Linked DNA regions of Homo sapiens: region 1 is linked to region 2. The links are contacts of gene promoters, found by promoter capture Hi-C in human tissues and cell types (Jung and others, 2019). All regions are on one chromosome and are shown on one strand. Each heading gives the region's core, a stretch centred on a gene start or on the middle of the fragment in contact. The rest is flanking DNA. Distances are from core to core; before and after follow the strand shown. Region 1 holds the start of LOC124902892 (a long non-coding RNA gene). Region 2 holds the start of CAPZA3 (capping actin protein of muscle Z-line subunit alpha 3).

Region 1 (4,914 bases), core at 478-2,977, 540 kb before region 2:
CGTAACTTTTTAACCACCACCAGAACAAGAAACATCTAGATTAGAAAAAGTAAGATTAGGCTGGGCGTGGTGGCTTGCGCCTGTAATCCCAGTACTTTGGGAGGCTGAGGCAGGCAGATCGCTTGAGGCCAGGAGTTCAAGACCAGCTTGGCCAACATGGTGAAACCCTGTCTCTACTAAAAATACAAAAATCAGCCAGGTGTGGTGACGCACGCCTGTAGTTCCAGCTACTCGGGAGGCTGAGGCAGGAGAATCACTTAAACCTGGGAGGTGGAGGTTGCAGTGAGCTGAAATCGTGCTGGTGACAGACACTCTGTCTCAAAAAAAAAAAAAGAAAAAGAAAAATTAAATTACAAGTATTCATCTTATACAATCATCTCCATAGGCATAAATTTATATCCTAATATCAAAATCAACAGAATTCAATGAACCAAGTATGTGGAAGGGTTGGGACTCCACAAACTCAGGTTTTCTGATCTCTTCTTTCAATGTTTAGTTAACAACTTTTTCCTAATATTACATGGGCTCCTACTGGTTGTGAAAATGTCAGAGATATTGGTAATTACATGGACCCGAAGGGATTAAATATTTGATGGGAAAATCATTTGACCATACTCTTAATAATCTGGGAATCCTTCGCTGATAATCTGGATATAAGAGCTCTCTTTTGACCCAAAGACCTGTCAGTAACAATGCACAAATACTGATATATTATAGTTACAAAAAGATTTCAGGCTGGGTGCAGCGGCTCACCCCTGTAATCCCAGCACTTTGGGAGGCCAAGGCGGGTGGATCACTTGAGGTCAGGAGTTCAACATAGCAAAATCCCGTCTCTACAAAAACTAGAAAATATTAGTCAGGTGTGGTAGCATGCTCCTGCACTCCCAGCTACTCGGGAGGTTGAGGCAGGAGAACTGCTTGAACCCAGGAGGCAGAGGTTGCAGTGAGCTGAGATTGTGCCACTGTACTCCAGCCTGGCCAACAGAGGGATGGCCCTGTCTCCAAAAAAAAAAAAAAAAAAAAAAAAAAAAACAGGTTTCATTGTGATGAATTAAGTGCATTCTGGACTATGAGGCACCTAATTAATAAACTGCCGGCATAATTTGTGTCTATTGGGGCAGTAAAATTATGTTACCTTTACACTAAGAGAAAAATCTCATGTTAAATATACCTTCTCTTTGTGGGTTAAAGCATCCAGAGGGGATATAGTGGGAAAACAGTAAAACAGGAAAAGTGGTTGATCAAAAATCAAGACAGCCAAGTTTTGATTCTTGCTTTCCTATTAAGTACTTAGACCTTGGATGAGTTACATATTCTGGGGCTTTCAGAATATTGGGGGCAGGGTAGGGGAGTAGGGGAGAAAAGACCAAGAGATTTTATATATATATGTATGTATTTTTTTTTTTTTTGAGATGGAGTCTCACTCTGTCGTCCAGGCTGGAGTGCAATGGCATGATCTCCGCTCACTGGACCTGTCTCCCAGGTTCAAACGATTCTCCTGCCTCAGCCTCCCGAGTAGCTGTGATTACAGGTGCCTGCTGCTACACCCAGCTAATTTTTGTATTTTTAGTAGGGACAGGGTTTCACCATGTTGGCCAGGCTGGTCTTGAACTCCGGACCTCAGGTGATCCAACCACCTTGGCCTCCCAAAGTGCCAGGATTACAGGTGTGAGCCACACCTGGTCCAAGAGATCATACTTGGGGTTACAGAAAGAGCTTGCGGGCTAAATAGAACTAAAATGCAGGTCTCCTACTTTCTAAAGCAGCACTCTTTTAACTATGCCAGTGATCCCTAAACTTTTTGATTTTTTAAAAAAATCCCTCTATTTTTAAATTTTGCCACGATATGAATATTATTTTTAAAAAACCATACTCATCTATCACAATGACTTAGTTAAAAATAAAAAGGTATTAAAAATTAGGAAGGATATAATCTTATCGCACCAGAGAGCTCTTTAATATGCTATTAAAATCTAGCCAATGGCCAACTGAAACTGGGATCCTCTTTTCTCATCTAGAAGATGATTTCATCATAAACTTATTCTAGAGCTCTAAAATTCTATGCCTTATTTTGTATTTTAAATATTTCTAATTCTTTCAACCGTTTCTCCTAAACTAAATTTCCTTCATCATGGTGGTTGTTCTTCAGGATTTCAATGTCTCTACTCAAAAAGAGGTTGTTCAAAATTGAACGAAATGTCTCCAGACAAGAACCGCTGCATTCAGGCCAACCATCCGATTCGATGCCTTCGGGGTGGAGAGAGGGAGAAAGGTACCCAATTGCTCTTATATAACCAGTATAAAGAGTTCAATTCCTTGAGGCTTTCCCTCCATGGGTATTTCCTATTTTGTTTCTGCTTGGTCTTCCTCCCCATCTTCACCGTCTCCTATCACACGAAAGCCAGAAACTGGAAAACATCCAGAGCTGGCAATCCCATGACTATGTGCAAATATGTCAGCTAGGGAAAGCTGACTCCATCAAAGAGACTGCCCTAGTACTAAAGCAATTTACTCTGACACACCTTGGTTTGTTTGGTCATTCATAAATTGAAGAAATACTACAGGAGGCTTAATATGCAAAAAGCTAGAGATTAAGCACTGAGCTATATCATAGAAACATGTAAGGAAGGGGACATACATTATCAATCTAAAACACACCCAAAGTTGCTTATAAACTAATATCTAAATTATAGTTCAAAAATATAATTACACTAAAACACTTTTGTCAAGTGCTCTGAAGTATTCATAATGTTTGGGTTGGACCCTGTTGTAGAGACGTATATTGAACCTGAACTGTCAACTATCATATGATCATTAACAGCAGGATATATATATTTTTAGTAAGCTTGCCTAATTAATGACATTAAAAGGCTCTTCTGTCATCTTTGGAACCACATTTGGGGAATTTTAATTAAAAATTAAATTATTATCAAGCAAATTTATTTTTATCCCATATATTTCTAGCACTTTGAGACCTGTTTTTCAAAACTACAATTCCCTTTAGTGACTTTTTTCCCCAAAGAAATTCAAATTAAGCAAAGTGTGATTTACTTTTAACTGAAAGCTTAAGAAATGAACACTCTAAGCTCCTACATCAGATTTAGTGCCCCATTGGCCAGCAGCTGCCTGTCAAGCACCATAAAAGCCCTTTCCCTGTGATTCTGCCATGCAGAACAATGGCTTAAGGACCATGCATCTTAACAGTGCCTGCCACTCAGAATGAAACTTTAAAGCTTTGTTCACAGATGCAGGGATCTACTATTTTGACTAAATATTAAACCTTTTTCTTTCTATCAGAACTTTAATAATAGAAGACTTTCATAAAGCTTTTTAAAAAATGATTTATATATTGAATTACAATTGTTTCATTCCACCAATAAAAAATCATTTCATTATAAAACACTACAACTATTTTTATGATGAAGTTTATATCATAATGTAGATGATATTTTCTTATGATCCAAAGTGGACTCAAGCCATTTCAAAAGAACATCTAAATAACAGTATTTATAAAAACTGGCATAACAGTTAACCCAAAAATGTAGGAGGAACCCAGAGAAAATCTTAGCTCAAAATAACCTAAAACCAGCCTTCAGAAGCTGTTGGTGTATGTCCAAAAGGAAGAAGTCACTGAAAGACTTTACTGATATTAATTACACTCATAAAGGAACCTAAAACTAGTATTTATACTTCACAATTTTTAAAAATCCTCTAATTTCCAGATATCTGTTGACTCTCTCTATACACTTTTAAACTTAAGAAAGTATGATTTTCGGGGAAAAGTGATTCTTCTTTGAAGTAAGATTTAACTTGGTGAGCAGAGACGCACCAATCTTCTGATTTGGATTTTTATAATTTTTCTGAAAGTGATTACTTTCCCAAGTACTTCCAAACATCCTTTCATTTTTTTCCCCCCAGACCTGCTTCCTGCTTCTTTTCTGTCTAATCACATTGTATTAATTTATTTTCCTGCTAGTAATATATAAGCTTATTCATGTCTGTCATTCCATCCAACATTAAGTAATCTAATTTTTATTCATCTATGCCTTAATTCTTTTATTTATGATTTTGGTCAATCTGGTAAGTGAAAAATAATGCCTAATTGTTTCTTTAATGTGCAATTCCCTGATTACTGGTAAATTTGAGCATCTGCCAGTTTCCTTTTTAAAGAAAATTGACAAATAAGATTATATATATTTATGGTGAACAACATGTTTTGAAATATGTATATTGTGGAATGGCTAAACCAAGCTAATTAACATATGTATTACCTCACATAACCCATCCAACCACTATCTTCTCTTTTCCCAAATCTTTTCTTTGCAGTAAAAGGCACCAAATCACCCTAGTTGCCCAGGCCTAAAAGGCAGGGTGTCATTTTTGATTTCCTTCAAGAAACTTCCAGATTGGAGTGCAGTGGCACGATCCTGGCTCACTGCAACCTCTGCCTCCCGGGTTCAAGAGATTCTCCTGCCTCAGCCTCCCCAGTAGCTGAGATTACAGGTGAGCACTAAAATGTCTGGCTAATCTTTGTATTTTTAGTAGACATGGGGTTTCACCATCTTGGCCAGGCTGGTCTCGAACTCCTGGCCTCAACTGAACTGCCCGCCTTGGCCTCCCGAAGTGCTGGGATTACAGACTCAAGCCACCTTGCCCGGCACCAAACTTAATCTTGAGCAAGACGAGTTTGCAATCAAGCACATCAAAGCAATCAACTAGACTTGTCAATTATATCCCGAATACATCCTCATCCTCTTCTCACTTCAATCACTTAAGTAACTTTTGAACTTTCTCCAATTTATTATCCAGATTTCTGAGACACCAATCTGAATCTCTCTCTCCTAGCTTATGTCTCTAGCCTGTTCTTCACTCATTGATTCCCCAGTTACAATCAAGTCATACTGGATTTCTTTT
Region 2 (5,206 bases), core at 1,006-3,505:
TTGTTTGTGTCCCTCAAAATTTATATGTTGAAACTGAGTCCCCGAGGTGATGGTATTAGGAGGTGAGGACTTTGGGAGGTGATTGGCCATGAGAGTGGAGCCCTCATAAACGATATTAGTGCCATTAATAGAAGTTCTACAGAGCTGCTTTGCCCCTTTTACCATGTAAGGTCACAGTCAGAAAGTCCTATCTATGAGGAAACACACCTTTACTAGGCACTAAATCTGCTAGCAACTTGGTCTTGGACTTCACAGCCTCCATAACTGCGACCAATAAATTCCTGTTATTTGTGAGTTACTCAATATATGGTATTTTGTTATAGCAGCACAAGTGAACTGTGACACTATGTGTCTGGAAGATGTGAACAACTTGAGAACTTAGGTTTTTCTTAGGTACAACGGAGATAATACTAGTACCAGATTAGTGATGAAAAATGTTATGCAAAATATTTAGCACAAGCCATGTTATGTAATAAGTACTTCTAAGTGTTTACAGTGACGACTTCACAAAAGCCTGGCTGTAAAAGTTTGGGAAGTCAGGCTTCTCTGGTTGGCTTGGAAGACCATGTTAGTTATCAGACAAGCCAGGGATTTTGAGTAACCCCAATTCTTGAGGGGAAGAAAGTAGAGTGGAAGAGGAGCCAAAATTACTAATAGTCCTTCATCTGAGCTAGATTTTTGATATCTGTTGGTTTTGTGGAAAATCCAAACCTAATGTCTTTTATTGAAATTCCCCATCTCGTGGATGGTCTAGGACTGAATTGAGTTATGTAAAATATCATTTGTGGAGTGATATTCATTTGTATACCTTTTCAGTTCGAAACAGTCAAAAGTCTCTCTCTCTCTCTCTCTCTCTCTCTCACACACACACACACACACACACACACACACGTACACACCCACACACAGCCTTAACCCTGGCCACCTCTATACTATTTCTGGAATCCCAGATTCTATAAAACTATTTTAGTTTCTAACAAATGTCTTGGTCTTTATGATGGTCACCACCATGAAACACAGTTACTTTACACTTTCTTGCCTTGTTCATAAATATTCCCCAAGTAAAATTACTTGCTACACTTTTCCCATTTAAATTTGCATTGGCTAAGTGAGAGACATCTCTACAGATTGCTCAATTTTAGGAAAATAACCATTCCCAAGAAACACAAACAAGTCAAATCAAGATAGTTACCAGGAGCAATTCTTTATATTATCCAGTTGCACAACACACTTCTTGAATAAATGACATATCCTAATTTAGGATACATCACCAGATTCAAGTCAGAGAGTATCCTGTGCCAGTCAATAAGAGTGCGGGTCACTGGAAGATCCCTTCGTAGAATTTTTCTCAGGGCTTCATTGGATAACTCCTGTAATTCTTCCAAGACTGCAGCTTGAAATTTGTTCTCTTGCTCTTCCACAAGCCTTGCAAAACTTAGAGCCAGTTGAGCTTGGTTAACTATTTCCAAGCTTTCTTTCAGGTCCTTGGATATTTCAATATGAAGGTTGACACACCTGAAGAAGTGAGCTTGCACAAATATTCTTCCCGTTACTTGGGTTAGAAATGGGTTAACTTGGAAAATCCATTTAGATTTCCAAAGTCCGTTCCAGCACTCTCCTGTTTCATAGTTGTGATCTTCAATGCAAGCTATCAAGTACTCCTTACTTTTGACAGTTTTTCTCAGCATGTTGCAATTTCCTTTTGGATAGTGGTCATTCACATACAGTTTTAAGGCGCACAGAAGAACAACTCTCAGGTATTCTGCCTCATTCTGAATGATACCATGACTTTGGATGTCTTTCAGCTGATTTTGAAGCAGGTCATATTTGAAAGAAAGTTTGCTTTGATGGTCAAAAAATCGGTAGTCGCCCATTACATTGTGGTGAGACAAGAGTACTGGATTTCCATCGATGCAGAGTGGTACAGAATATTTTTGGCAGTGTTGGTGGCCTGCACACTCACCTTGGTGGTGCATAAGTTTTTCATCACGGATAAGCAGACAGAGATCATCAAAGGCATTTACAAATTCCCCTGGAGGGGCCTGTAATAACAGTCTGCGAATTACTCTTTCCTTGTCCTTCCTGCTCAGCACGCTAAGTGTCATGTTTGGTTGCAACAGAAGCAAAGCTTCTGAAATGAGGAGTGTTCAAAGGATAAGAAAACATTCCATGAGCCACCTTTCCCATCAAGGTGTTAACATTCAAGCTGAAGGTTTTTATGTCTATCCATGAAAGCAGGCAGTCTGGCAAGGTCTGAGCCTCCTGATGAGGTCATAAGAAGCTTTCCTTGTGAAGTGTGGAACCTCTGATGATATCACAATGGGAATTCAGACCAAAAGGAAAAAATGACAGTCACCTGACAGTGTGGTGCCCAGCCAACCAGCTATACCTCTTTTGAAGATTTTAAGAACTTAGCCTCCTGAACAGTCTTCTTCGAAAGTGGTGTGTCTCTGTGTGCATTATATGTTGTCAACGATCTAGAGAAGCAGCCCAAAGTTTCAAGAGTGACAGCACTTTGCAACTTCAGGAATCACAATGGTGTTGATTTATACTCAGGCTCTCAGAGTAGCTGCCCAAACCCACTGGAAGCATATTATGATGAAAGGTTTGAGGGGTTTAAACAAAGTAGTAAAAAATAAAAGGAGATACAATGGCAGTTCATGGAAAAATGCCAGACATCAGGGAAAGCTGTGTTTTCAAATATTGTGGGTTTGGAGGTGGTCAGAACGTAAGAAGCCAAACAGTTTCAAGGGCAGGGTAGTGCAGGTACCACATCTTGCATACTGTTTCTATGGTTAAGTGTGAGCTAGCTTCAAAGAACGAAGGCAAAAAAAACCACTGTGTGTTCTCTGCTTTCTCCCTAGAAAAGTGGTAACAGCTGATGAGTATCAAGAAATTATTTTCTGCAAAGGGGCAGAGTTAATTGTATTTGGAACCCATGACAGCACCTACTGGGGAAAGACTTCTAAGTGAGGAGAAACGGCTCTACAGGTCATGAAACTATGGAAATGAGATATCCATTGAGAGCTTCTTTCTGCTCCTCTTCTTCTTTCTCCTACTTATCCTCTTTACTTGATGCTGTTATTCTTTTCGAGGAGTTCTGAATTTAAGTCCTCTTCATTTAAGTTGAACTGCTTTTCCCTGTTTGTTCTGAGCTTTTCTAACTTTCCCTGCATTCTGGTATCTTTTTCTTACAAGAACATGAGCTTTGCTGGATTAAGTCATAACTATTAAATTTAAGGAGATCTCATTAATTCGTTCTAACAATCTGAAACTTAGTAGTTTTGCACAATTTTTACCTATACCTTTTATAATTTTAGTGATAATTGTCATTATCTCATTTCGATCTTAGTTTTTCAAATGGAAGTGTCCTAGTTTTTGTAGTTTATCTATGATAAGTAAGCTTTTAAAAATTTTTTTCGTTTTTCATACCAAATATACACTCACCATGGTATTTCTGATGCTTTTTGATGGTACTGTCTTGAGTGTGTGTGTAGCTGGGCATTGGACTAATGTAGTAATAATAACTTTATCAGTCATGGTTACTATTTATTGAACACTAAGTAGCAGAAACTGTGTTCGGTGGCATATTAGGAATTCATCTAATGCTTCCACTTTCCTTAAGATTCAGGGTTAATTTGCTCACCTTTCTGGAAGAGAGAACTAAAACAGAGAGGTCAGGTGAGAGGCGATCTTGAAGTCTAGCTGCCTTCCAACTTCATGCCTTCAGGCAATAGATTGTTATAATGTTTTAATGTATGTTCTAAGTAATGACTTCAATTCTCAAATTTTAACTTTAATTCTTTTTTTTGTATTTTTACTGTGCTATGCCCTTTCATACCTTTACCATAGCATAGTAACTACTTAATTTTGTTTTTTAAAAAATATTTATCATACAATTATACTATAATTTACTTTAAACATATTCTTTAAAAATAAAAATAATACAGTAAATCAAATGTTTCTTTAGGAATTTTAAATATTCAATGACTTTCTGTGAGAATTTCCTTAACTTTTTTGTGCTTCTACATGGTTTTTGTCAAAGATTCAGGATGACTTCAGAGGTGGAAAAATTAACCTAGAAAAAACTCAGAGGTTACTTGAAAAATTAGATATTCGGTGCAGTTATATTCATGTGAAACAGATTTTTAAGGTAAGATGACATCCACCCCCTGCCTATCCTATCCTAGGTGGAACTTAATCCAATGTCAGTAATTGTCATATAAAGGTTAGTCTCTTAAGAAGAAAAGCAATTAATTATACTAACTATATTTACAATCAAGATGGAGAGCATTTCAGTAGAAGGTAAAATTAGTTGTTGAGAAAATCTGAAATAATACCAGGATATCAGTTTAGAATAATTTCCTGAGCATACAGAAATGCTAACATTAAACCTAGGATTGGATGTCTAATTATATCAGACTGATAATGGTAACTGTATTAGATGTTAGTGATTTATAAAAAGAGTGGAGAATAAGCCCAAAGTTAGCAGAAGGGAGGAAATAATACAGATTAGCACAGAAATAACTAAAATAGAAAAGAAAAAAATTAGAAGAAATTGAGGAAACTAAGACTTGTTTTTTTGAAAAGTTAAATAAAATTGACAAATACTTAGAGTAAGAAAAAAGAGAGAGGAGTCAAATAAAATCAGAAATGAAAGTGGAGACATTACAACAGATCTCACAAAAATGAAAAACACATAGAGCAATCATACACCATAAAATTGGACAATCTAGAAAAAAAAGGGAAATTTCAAGAACCATATAACCCATCAAGACTGAACCAAGAAGAACTAGAAAGGTTAAACAGACCAATAACAAAAAGGAGACTGAGAGGCTGTGTGCAGTGATTTGTACCTGTAATCCCAATGCTTTGAGAGGCCAAGGTGGGAGGATCACTTGGGGCTAGGAGTTTGAGACCAGCCTGGGTAACATAGTGAGACCCTGTTTGGAGACTTAATCAGTAATCAAAAACTGCCCAACGAAGAAAAGCCCAGGACCAAATGACTTCACAGGTGAATTCTACCAAAGATTTAAAGAAGAATTAATACCAATCCTTCTGAAATGCTTCTAAAAAATAGAAGAGGGAACACTTCCAGTTTTATTTTATAAGGTCAACATCATCTGGATACCAAAGCTGGACAAAGGCACCACAAGAAAACAAAACTTTAGGCCAATATTCCTGATGAACATAGATGCAAAATTCC

What was found. Contacts are between HindIII fragments. The study calls those that stand out against the background at their distance.
Region 1: a fragment that was not itself captured here is called in contact with the fragment with the promoter of CAPZA3 in region 2 in 2 of the 25 tissues and cell types used here (hippocampus and mesenchymal stem cells).

What each region holds. Positions count from the first base shown.
Region 1 is chr12:19,276,155-19,281,068 of GRCh38, reverse strand. The region is part of intron 11 of PLEKHA5 (pleckstrin homology domain containing A5); the gene reads right to left. It overlaps LOC124902892 (a long non-coding RNA gene), which reads left to right and starts at 2,183. Exons shown (of 3, transcript XR_007063235.1): 1 at 2,183-2,272; 2 at 4,327-4,503. The HindIII fragment of the contact is 8,203 bases long and covers 1-4,914 here.
Region 2 is chr12:18,735,168-18,740,373 of GRCh38, reverse strand. It overlaps CAPZA3 (capping actin protein of muscle Z-line subunit alpha 3), which reads right to left and starts at 2,255. Exons shown (of 1, transcript NM_033328.3): 1 at 1,186-2,255. The coding sequence starts at 2,105. The coding sequence ends at 1,206. It overlaps PLCZ1 (phospholipase C zeta 1), which reads left to right and starts at 2,362. Exons shown (of 15, transcript NM_033123.4): 1 at 2,362-2,442; 2 at 2,865-3,013; 3 at 4,030-4,153. The coding sequence starts at 3,003. The HindIII fragment of the contact is 1,043 bases long and covers 1,800-2,842 here.